Regions from separate parts of the Homo sapiens genome. Here all the other regions are linked to region 3. Evidence: promoter capture Hi-C in 16 types of primary human blood cells and fetal thymus (Javierre and others, 2016). All regions are on one chromosome and are shown on one strand. The core of a region is centred on a gene start or on the middle of the fragment in contact, and the rest is flanking DNA. Distances in the headings are between cores, read along the strand shown. Region 1 has its middle 5.2 kb from the start of LINC02766. Region 2 overlaps VPS13D (vacuolar protein sorting 13 homolog D). Region 3 holds the start of DHRS3 (dehydrogenase/reductase 3).

Region 1 (3,781 bases), core at 525-3,024, 98 kb after region 3:
TGTTGGCCAGGCTGGTCTCAAACTCCTGACCTCAGGCGATCCACCTGCCTTGACCGACCTCCCAAAGTGTTGGGATTACAGGCATGAGCTACTGCGCCTGACCTCACTCTTTAAGTTTTAAAACACAAATAAACTGCAAGTGAGGTCGGGTGCAGTGGCTCACACCTGTAATCCCAGCGCTCTGGGAGGCTGAGACAGGCAAATCTCAGCTTGAGGTCAGGAGTTCGAGACCAGCCCGGCCAACATGGTGAAACCTCGTCTCTACTAAAAATACAAACATTAGCTGGATGTGGTGGTGCATGCCTGCAATTTCAACTACATGGGAGGCTGAGGCAGGAGAATGCTTGAACCCGGGAGGTGGAGGTTGCAGTGAGCCGAGATCGCATCATGGCACTCCAGCCTGGCAACAGGAGTGAAATTCCGTCTCAAAAAAAAATAAATAAATAAAATAAAACCGCAAGTGGTCACACAGAATGACAGCATTGAAGCAACTCAAGTCCCATTGCTTTGTCTTAAAATCTGTTTAAATGCAGGAATATGTTGGAACAGGGGGGTTAGGGACTCCACTGTGCCCCGAGCAAGCCTGAACAATTCCAAACCATTAGAACATTCTCTTGAAATGAAGGTGTGTTAGCTGAGTCCACGCTTGGTGGGCAAACCACTGCATAACCGGCAGATCTCAGAATTAATGTCCACGTGGTGTACAAGATTTACTAAAGGAAAAGTACTACAGTGTACTAATTTAAAGCTTGCCTACATATCTACTAAAACTCACTGGAATTTAAACTCACTAAAGATTTTTGAGGGGAGGAGAATTTTATCTCCACCCCAAATCTCCAGATTTTGTTTAGAATTGCCAAGAGCACAGTGATAGTAAAAAGCAGCCGGCTTTTAGTCCTAGTTTTATTATTGTTTTTTAATTGTTTGCAGGCTGGATCTGCACTCTCTCCAGCACGCAGGCTCCTACTCCCACCGACCGCCCTTGTAAGTCACTGTCATGGGCCAAAGTTCCATGGCCACTGTGTCATACTCACGATCTCTCCTTAACCTGCCATTGGTGCTTCATTCTGCCTAACTTTGCTCTGTCTGAAATTCCAACAAAACTTACAGGCAATGTCCTCTACATTGTTGAATACAACATATGTCTTACTTGGCGTTTTAGTGCCATGCAATCCAGTTGACTGTGTCTTCCTTCTCGAAGCACTGTCTTTTTTTTTTTTGAGATGGAGTCTCACTCTGTCACCCAGGCTGGAGTACAGTGGCATGATCTCGGCTCACTGCAAGCTCCACCTTCCGGGTTCACGTCATTCTCCTGCCTCAGCCTCCCGAGTAGCTGGGACTACAGGCACCTGCCACTGCGCCTGGCTAATGTTTTTTTGTATTTTTAGTAGAGACGGGGTTTCACCGTGTTAGCCAGGATGGTCTCGATCTCCTGACCTCGTGTTCTGCCCACCTCGGCCTCCCAAAGTGCTGGGATTACAGGCGTGAGCCACCGCGCCGGGCCGAAGCATTGTCTTCTATTTTGCCAGCCACCTCTCCAGTTGCTCCTTCGCCATCTCCTTTGCTCGTGCTCCTACACACATCCATCACATGCTGGAGCTCCTTAGGGCTTGTCCAGGCCCCCTTCTCATCTCAAATTCTACTCTCATTATCATCAAATCTGCCCCCATGGTTTAAAACACATCACTGGTTGCTTAAGCTAGAAACCCAGAAGCTACCCTTGATATTTCTTTTTCCCTAATCTCTCTCTCTTTTTTTTTTTGAGACAAGTCTTGCTCTGTCTCCCAAGGTGGAGTGCAGTGGTGCAATCACGGCTCACTGCACCCTTGACTTTAGGACTCAAGTAATTCTCCTGTCTTGGTCTCCTTAGTAGCTGGGACTACAGGCGTGTGCCACCAGGGCCAGCTAATTTTTTTTTTTTTTTTTAGAGATGGGGTCTTGCTATGTTGCCCAGGCTGGTTTTGAAGTTTCAAACTCCTGGGCTCTGGTGATCCTTCCGCCTCCATCTTCCAAAGTGTTGGGATTGCAGGCGTAAGCCACGGTGCTTGGCCCCTAATCTGTGCATGAAATCAATCTCACTGGTTTTTCTGTTCTCCCTCAAAAACATATCCGGATTCTATTGGCTCCCTTCCATCTCTCTGCCCCCATCCTCATCCAAGCCTCCTTATTTCTTGCCTGGGCTATTGCAGCTGCTCTCCACTACTAACTCATGCTACCCTGTCTCCATCTGCAGCCAGACAGGTATTTCTTTTGCGATGCCAACCTCACTGTGGAACCCTCTGCTTATAGCCTCTCCTAGCGTGGCTTACAGAGTCCAACATGACCTGGCCCGGCTGCGCCCCCCACCTCCTCTCATTGTGCTCCAGCTAGTCCAGGGATCCTGGGACTCAGCTGTGCTAAGCAGGTCCCTGCCTCAGGGCTCCAAAAGGACACTGTCCTCTTCCCGGTGCCTCATGAACTCTCCTCACTCTTGCTGGACTCAGACCATCTGCCTCTTTCTCGGTTGAGTCTTCCCTGTCACACCCTGACGTCCACCACTAGTATAGCTAGCTCAGTGAGGGCAGCAAGAATGCCACCCTATTCACTGTACATCCACGCATCCAGTACCGAGCCTGGCACCCAGTACGTGCTCAAGAGCAGGGGCTGGAAGTGCCTCCCTGTTGCTGGAGGGGCAGAGGGTTAGGTTCTGTAGCATCAGACTCACGTGTGTTGTCTGGGAACACCTAGGGATGCTCGATCTCTGTGGACAAACCATGGAACAGATCGAGAGTTGCCTTTCTGCAGGCTTTGCCAAGCTTCCCAGAAGTCTCTGTGTACCCCTTAAGCATCTTAGGAAAATACGCCCAAAAGGCAGGAATTTTCCCTCTAAAGTGGCCCTGGGAGCTGTTTCAGCACCCGCCCCCTCCCAGCACCGCCCCCTCCCGTCTCCCACACACCCCCTCCCTTGGGGGCTCACTTGCCCGGGGTTTCCAAGAGCCAAGTTGGTCTAGATTCACACATTTCCTCCAAGTCAAAACGTACCCGTGACCTTTCTGTGCTTTTGAGTCAGACCAGAATAAGCATGAGGTGTGAAGTTTTATGAGCCCCTGGGAGCTGCTGACGCTGGCCGTGCTCCTTGGGTAAGACTGTGGGAGAACACGATCTGGCTCCCCTCAGCGACAAGTGGGTTGGCCCCGCTCCTGGGCGTGGGGCAGGCAGCTCTGCAGTGCAATTGTTCCAGCGTCAAATCCTTCTGAAGTTCCAACTGGAGTATTTGGAGGAAGCTTAATTAAGACTGCTGTGTTCTTCTTTTTCCTTTCTTCTAACTTTGTTTACTTTAAGCACTTACTGCACTTCCAAAGGATATAGCTGGAGTTAGAGACTCTGCCCCGCAGGCCACTTGAAGATGCAAGGCAGTCTCTCCCACACACAAAATAAGATCCTGTAGGACTTAATTCAGATAGTCTACAAAGTTCTGTGTGTCTGTCTGTCTATCTCTATTTGTATGCCTCAAAGAGATAATATACTTTTGTTTCATATGTTCATGGAATATTTATTTATTTATTTTATATGGAGTCTCGCTCTGTCGCCCAGGATGGAGTGCAGTGGCACGATCTCGGCTCACTGCAACCTCCGCCTCCTGGGTTCAAGCAATTCTTCTGCCTCAGCCTCCCAAGTAGCTGGGACTACAGGCGCACGCCACCACGCCCAACTAATTTTTTTGTATTTTTAGTAGAGACGAGGTTTCACCATATTGGCCATTCTAGTCTTGAACTCCTGACCTCATGATCTGTCCGCCTCG
Region 2 (3,689 bases), core at 859-3,358, 130 kb after region 3:
GAAGGCATACTCTTCCTAGAAGCAGAAAGCTGGATTAAAGGAATTTTCCCCCCACTCCTGTATCACCTCATCAATGTCAGTGCCTGAAAAACTCTTCTTTCTTCTCTAAAACTCAACTAAAAATTTACCTTCTCAGGTCCAAGTTGGTAGGCTGTGGGTAGGGGGAGAGTATTTGAAGTCACTGCATATGAACAAATTTAGTTCCAATCTTAAAGAATTACTAAAATAATGTAAAAAGCTAACAGTAAGCTAGTGTTTTCAAACCTCGTAAGCCAGCAAAAAGTTTAAAGTGAAGTTCTTCAGCCCAGGCCACTGTGTGACGACGCTGTTTTCTTCATCTGTTGATGTGACACTGTACGTTCAAGTAGGCCTTTTAAACGAGTATGACCATGTAACAGCAGTCCTACATTTGTTCATGCTCAGTGACAGTGTGTCCATTTTTAAGTGACTTTCCTGTATGTTCCAGTAAGCCTATGAGCACCTGGAGGGAAAGGACTCTAGTCTTTTTTTTTTTTTTTTTTTGAGATGGAGTCTCGCTCTGTCACCCAGGCTGGAGTGCAATGGTGCAATCTTGGCTCACTGCAAGCTCTGCCTCCCAGGTTCATGCCATTCTCCTGCCTCAGCCTCCCGAGTAGCTGGGATTAGAGGCGCCCGCCACCATGCCCAGCTAATTTTTTTATATTTTTATTAGAGACGGGGTTTCACCGTGTTAGCCACGATGGTCTCCTGACCTCGTGATCCACCCGCCTCGGCCTCCCAAAGTGCTGGCATTACAGGCGTGAGCCACCGCACCCGGCCAGTCCTTTTTTTTTTTTTTTTTTAATAACTGGTCTTTAGGACTGGGCTTATTATCCTCAGTTCAAGGCCCACTCTCATCATTGGGCTCTCTTTATTTATTTGAAATAAACATCTGTGAAAGCAAAAAAAAAAAAACTCCATCACTCAATCGTGGACCACAAGTTGGTCTTCTGCCACCCCAAATCCCTGTTCCTCCTTTAACTAAGGCAGCCGCTGTTCTGAATCTTGTGTTTCTCATTCCTGTGCTTTTCTTTTTTATGTAGCCTTACCACATTTCAAAGGATGCTCCAGTACATTCTTGTTATGTTCTTTGGGTTTAGTTTTGGGCTTTTGAAAAAGGATGTCGCTGTCACATTGCTAAGATTCAGGTATTCTTTTGTGTGTAGCCATGATTAATTCACCATGTCTCTGCTTTGTTCATATTCCATTGTATGACTATCCCATGATATATCCATCTTCCTGTTGATGGCACATGGGTTTCTTCCAGGTTCTGCTATTACAAATGATGCTATTATGAACATTCCTGTACGTGTTTCCTGGTGAACTTTGAGAATCTATCTAGGGGGAATTTGCTGGCTCACAAGATATAAACGTTCACTTAACAAGATAATCCAAACTGCGTTCGAAGTGGCTGAACCATTTTTACATTCCTGCCAATGAGGCATTTAAGGGGCCCTAGCGATCTATATCCAACACTTGGTATTGTCTAGGACAGCACTGTCCAATACATAGCTACTGACCACGTGTGGCTACTGAGCATGTGAAATGTGGCCAGTGTAACTAAAGGACTGAATTTTAAATTTAAATTGTATTTTGGATAGCACTGGTCTAGACTCTTGAATCTTTGCTGCTTGAATGGATATTAAATGTCTTCTTATTGTTTTTTCATTCCCATCTTCTCCTTTCAGCCTATAGCCTACAGCATAGTGGTACCCAATAAATACATAAATTAATAAATTTAAAAAAGTGGAGTAGCTGCAGATCCTGCCATTGGTGCTACAGCAGCAGATCAACGTCTAAACGACTCAGGCCCACCACTGTTAGGCCTGCGGCCTCCCTGGTGGCTTTGTTCCTTTCCTCTGACCACCTTTGCTGCTACTTGGGCAGGGTCTTGATACAATAATTCTGGGGACAATGGATCACCGAACAAGAGGTGGCCAAAATCCACCCACTCACCTCTCCTTAGTCGACAGCATCTCTTATGAACCAACACTCAACCTAGGAGTCTGTTCAGCGCACATGCAGCAACTCTGCCTCCACAAACCTTTGTTTGGCCAAAGGTCTGCGGTATATTTAATTGCTGCCAGCTGGAGCTTGTCGGCCATGTTAAGCCCTCAGCTGCTGCGGTTTACAAATTTCACAGTGTATAGAAAGAAGCAGTCCTTCCAGTCAACCAGCTAATCCAGAATGTCAGCACCAAACCAACTTGAGCTTTGAACTCTATGAAAATGTCAGGGAGTCTGCTGTACAGCATGGAGGACTCTTCCCCCAGGGAAGGGGCTGTGGATACAGTGGCTGATACACTGCAGATATCCTTCCAGTGAGGGCAATCAATACAGAGTGTGCCTGCATCTGGCCATTGCTATCTGATATACACCGGAGGCCCAAAACCAATGATCAGAGTAGTAACAACTCATGTCTTTTAAAAAAAAAATCAACAGTAAATCCAAACAAGGTGACACAGGGAGATCCAGCCAATTCCACTTGGTTGATCTTGCCTTTCAGCCTGAAAGTCAACATTTAGCCAGGCATTAATTATTCGTAGCTTATACGATGAGTAACTATGTCATAGGTCTGTTAGTTAAGACAGATGCTGTGCACACATACACATACCCCTACACAGCTTAATTTGGTTGAGAAGTCTGTCATGGCCAATGTCTATCAGCCAAGTGATGTTCAAAAACAATCAGTAAGTGAGTAGAAAGTGTATGTCACACATGTGACGTTAGCATCATAGAATGTTTATTCAACTGATGGCTGCCATCTTCCTTAAGGGTTGTGTGATGGGTTGTGCTTGCATTCACTTTATGTATGTGTCCAGGGCTTTTGTTTTAATCAAGTATCTTACTGATATATACTGTGCTCGAGTGTGCACAATTAGACTGAGAACGAAGGTCAATCCAGACTACCTCTTCCAATACTGGTCACTGATAACAGCTACAAGATACCAGGGTTCTTGACCAAATGGCCTAATCAAACATTTGTCATTTCTCTAAGAGAAACCCCGCAGTCTGTCTAAATAGTACTGTCTGCAGTAGAGTAGACGAATTGGTGAAAAACCCTCTGGTATCCACAGCAGTACAATGTCTGCAAGCCCAAGAAGCCCACCATGCCGTGGGCTGCATCTGTCTTGGACCTGTAGCTCCCACCATGCCATGGGCTGCATCTGTCTTGGACCTGTAGCTCCCACCATGCCGTGGGCTGCATCTATCTCGGACCTGTAGCTCCCACCATGCCGTGGGCTTCATCTATCTTGGACCTGTAGCTCCCACCAGGCCGTGGGCTGCATCTATCTCAGACCTGTAGCTCCCACCATGCCATGGGCTGCATCTATCTCAGATCTGTAGCTCCCACCATGCTGTGGGCTGCATCTATCTCGGACCTGTAGCTCCCATCATGCCATAGGCTGCAACTACCTCTGACGTGTAGCTCCCTCCTCTTGGCCACATGCATCTACTTCTAAAGACGAAGTGGAAAAGCATTTCTTCTCCATAAACAGATTTTACTCCTTTCAGTGCAAACTGTAATCAGAGAAGACTCTATTAGAGGATGAAAATTTCTAAAGTTTGCCTCTGTTTACATGAGAAATTCTTCCCCAAGGTTTCAAGAGAAAGAGAAATACACCTTCTAGAACCCACTCAAAGATAGTATTCAATCCGTAGGTTGGGACA
Region 3 (3,827 bases), core at 596-3,095:
GTATCCTATCTGGGCCACCAGGCGGCTCCGAGGACAACAGATGAGCAAAGCCCGCTTTTGCAGCCTGGTTCTGTCTTCAGATCTTTCCAGGCTTCTTCGCAGGCCTGGCGGACACCAGCCGCTGCTGGGTGGGAAAGGCCTGTCACTCCCAGGCTGGAATCGCTTTCCCATTTTTACAGACCTCGAAGATGAGAGGAGGCCGTCACCACAATGGATTCCGGCCCTGGGGTCTGATGGAGACATTGGTCCGCCCTTCGGTCAGACTCTTGGGGGCGTTAGGGGGGTGGGGGGGTCTCTGCTCTGCAACCCTTAGCTGAACCCCATCCTCCACTTCTCTCCTCCCGTCTGGTCAGAGTGGGAAGAGGTTTGGATTGGGATCCCCCCTCCTGCACTTCCTGGCTGGGTAACCTGGACGATGGGATAACAGTCCCCCGATTGCAAGGTCAGGGGAAGGACTGTGTCAGAATATAGGCCCTCAGTGCAGGACAGTTGCTCATCCTAAGCCTCTCCTGCCTTTTGCTCTTCCAGTGGCTTTTCACCCAGAAGGAAGATCCTCCCCTGCAGAACCTCTCCCCAGAACTAGGTCTTTGCAGGTGACGAGGTAATCCCAGCCTCCCCTCCCCGCAGATCAGCGTTTTTCGAAGTGACTTTCTCACCAGGCGGAGCATTGAAAGTACCGATCCCAGCGCACCCAGCCCTGCTGAATCAGAATCTCTGGGGGTGAGGCCCAGGAATCGCCGTCTGAACAAGTCGCGGGCTGGAAACGGCTGCCCCAGATTACAGGGCAGCTCCCTGCTTCGCTCTCGCTCCTCCGGCCCCGGGAACGTGCAGGGGGGCGGGAGGCAAGTCCCATCAGCACTTTGAACTGGGGCTGCTTTTTAGTGACTCACCTCCCAGACTTCCTGCAACAGACAACTCTAAATAGCTCGGTCCCACCCTCCAGCAGGGGAGACATTCCGGTCGGGAAGGGCAGGAGGTTAGAAGGTGGGTGCCCCGCCAGGGCAGTCCAGGGAGACCCAAGGACAGGAGACGCTGGCTGCACAGCACAGGGGCGCACGAATAGGACGTTTTGTTTACAGGCTTTTGTTATTAAGGAAATTGGTGTCAGTCAAGGTAATTCTAGCTCAGATGAGCAATAAATATGCTCCCAGCTAATCTTGTGGGGATTTTATTGGCACTCGGAGCAGAGGTTCCTTTACCTTGACTACTCCCTCCCCTCAAAGCAAAGTCCTGCTCCCCAGCGGCTTCCCCCTAAGCATCGTGAGGCACTTGGGTCAGGCTTTTAAAAGTCCACTCTACGTGAACACAGAAGAGGTCCGGGCAAAGGTGAGGAGTGGCTTCCTGATCCTACCTGGAGGCCGAGGATGACCAAATGACCTGAAATAAAACCCTGGGTGACCTGGTTGGATCAAGGCATACGCAAGCTCCCCCGGGCCTGCTCCACACTCGGGGTGATCACCTGGCCCGCGGGCGGCCCGGGCAAGGAGGAACGTCTCGAGAAGGCAGCCGGCTCGCCGGAGTCGGTTCCAGCGTGTTCGAGTTACAGCTGCGAGCCCTCAGGGACACCGGCGGCAAGTCCCGGCTTGCAGAGAGGGGAGCCAGTCCCGGGAGAGCGCGAGTCCCGGCGAGCCCGAGTGCGCGCCTTATGCGCGCTCCCCGCGACGGCGCAGGGGGAGGGGAGGCCGCAGCAGCCACTCAGAGGAACGGTAGTGAAGCCTCCCAACAACTTTAACTGTCAATCAGACTTAATGGGGTATTGAAAAAATGGGGGAAAAAGGGGCCGCCCTCTCCGCGACGCGGCTGCCCGGGGAGCGAATGAATAGGGCCGCGCAGACCAAGGCGTCCGATCCACGCGCGCTCCACACCCGGACCCTCTCCAAGTTGGAAAGGACAAAAAGAAGGCAATAAATGCTAAAAAGGGAGAGAAGGGGAGCTGGATCGAGCGGCAACTCCCAGCCTCTGCTGGAACAGAGAGGGAGGGAGGGAGCCGGAGCGAGCGAGCGCGCGCGAGGGCGAGCGCTGCACGTAAAGAAACTGACACCCGGACCCCCCACTTCTCCTGCACGTTGCTGGCAATCAGATCGCGTTTAAGCAATTTCCTGAGCCCAAGAATAGCAATGAGTCGGGAGACTTTCGCGGGCTGAAATTGGGAGCTCCAAGCACTTTTTCCCCCCACTTTTTTTTTTTTTTTTTTTCTGGAGACGGGGTGGGGGTGGGGGCGCTACAATTTGGAATCAGCTTTTTTTTTTTTTTTTTTTTTTTTTTTAATCTTGCACTTTGAAACCGCGGGACCGAGGCAGGGTGCGCGCGTGTGGTTGGTGCCTTTTTTTTTTTTTCTTCCCCTCCCTAAACTCCTCTGTCAGTCTGTAAACATTACCTGAGAATTCCCCAGCCGAAACGGCTGCTGGGGCAAGAAACTTCTTGTTAGAACTTTCCACCTCCGGCTTCCCCCTCCACCTCTTTTACCGTCCCAACCTTAGGAGACGCTTTTTCTCCCCCAGAGGAGAATTTATCTTTTTTTTTTTTTTTTTTTTCTTTTTCTCACCCGGTGCTTTGCATTTGGGAAGAGGTGATTTCAAGAGTGGCCAGGTGGGACGCCTCTCTCCTCCTTATTCGGTTTACTATTTATTGTTCGGGGTGTTTTTTAATTCCTGTATTGCTCGGCCCGGGGAGTTTCGCCCCCTGCCCGGCTCCGCGGCGCGGAGGATGGTGTGGAAACGGCTGGGCGCGCTGGTGATGTTCCCTCTACAGATGATCTATCTGGTGGTGAAAGCAGCCGTCGGACTGGTGCTGCCCGCCAAGCTGCGGGACCTGTCGCGGGAGAACGTCCTCATCACCGGCGGCGGGAGAGGCATCGGGCGTCAGCTCGCCCGCGAGTTCGCGGAGCGCGGCGCCAGAAAGGTACCAGGCACTGCGACTCCAGGGAGTGGGGGGCCGCAGGGGCGGGGGTAAGCCCACCTGCTGCCGCTGCGGGATCCCGCGCCCGGGAGCTGAGAGTCGCCGGCCACCCCACTTCTCCGCGCCACCCACGAGTGCTGAGCTAGTCGGTTTCACCTTGTAAATTTCCCGGGCACCGGACTGTCTTTTTTGGCAGGTTCAGAGTTGATCCGCTCCTTTGGGATCGGTGGCTGGCTGACTGGCTATTCACCCCCACCCTGAAACCTAAGAGACCCACCATTTCCCACATTCCTGCCTCCCAAAGGAAGGTGTTGTGCCCCCCTCCCCCGCCTTCCCCCCTTTTTCTTGCCGCCACCCTGGTGAGTGCAGGGTGTGCGCACTCCTGGGTAGAGCTGGGAGCCGCCTGCTAGCTGGCGCCTCGTATTTTCCTTGGCAACCCGCTACCCAGCCCCAACCTGGGCGGCTGCAGCTCTGAAGACACGAGAGAGGGTACTTGGTTTGGGTTTGAAAAGGGAAGAGCGGTCTTGTATGCAGTAGTCTGGCCGGACCGACACTGAGAGGCCCAGGTGTTTGGAAAGCAGGAAAGAGGAGGCCAGGGTAAGCAGCTACTGATAAAGAGCCCTTGTTCTCACCTTCAACCCTGTCCCCTCCCCCCCAGTACACCCCCCAGGGATCCCTCCCCATTTAGCTGGAAGGTGGTGCTGCAAGGAGGGTCCTGCCCACCAAACACGGCCTTTAACTTTTTGGTGGTCCTGGCACCCCTTGCTCCAGGTTTTGGAGACCTGGTGCCAGAGTGGGGAGAGTGGGCAGGCTGTCACCCAACTCCCAGCCCAGGCCAGGCTGACTCACGCGGTGACCAGAGCCATCAGGAGAGGGAGGCAGGCCAGGCTGTCTCCAGCCAGCCCTGTGAAGAGGAAGAGCGAAAACAG

What was found. The method cuts DNA at HindIII sites, captures the fragments that hold promoters and counts their contacts. A CHiCAGO score of 5 or more calls a contact.
Region 1: a fragment that was not itself captured here is called in contact with the fragment with the promoter of DHRS3 in region 3 in 1 of 17 cell types (activated CD4 T cells); the score reaches 6.4 in activated CD4 T cells.
Region 2: a contact is called between a fragment that was not itself captured here and the fragment with the promoter of DHRS3 in region 3, in 2 of 17 cell types (activated CD4 T cells and non-activated CD4 T cells). The highest score is 5.6, in activated CD4 T cells.

Annotation. Positions count from the first base shown.
Region 1 is chr1:12,518,419-12,522,199 of GRCh38, reverse strand. No RefSeq gene overlaps it. Among named protein-coding and RNA genes, the nearest start is that of LINC02766, 5.2 kb to the left of the region's middle. The HindIII fragment of the contact is 2,047 bases long and covers 751-2,797 here.
Region 2 is chr1:12,490,316-12,494,004 of GRCh38, reverse strand. The region is part of intron 67 of VPS13D (vacuolar protein sorting 13 homolog D); the gene reads right to left. Among named protein-coding and RNA genes, the nearest start is that of SNORA59A, 15 kb to the left of the region's middle. The HindIII fragment of the contact is 5,953 bases long and covers 1-3,689 here.
Region 3 is chr1:12,616,228-12,620,054 of GRCh38, reverse strand. DHRS3 (dehydrogenase/reductase 3) reads left to right here and starts at 1,845. Exons shown (of 6, transcript NM_004753.7): 1 at 1,845-2,901. The coding sequence starts at 2,707. RefSeq lists a silencer at 1-89 and enhancers at 325-956, 957-1,588, 1,589-2,220. The HindIII fragment of the contact is 18,116 bases long and covers 1-3,827 here.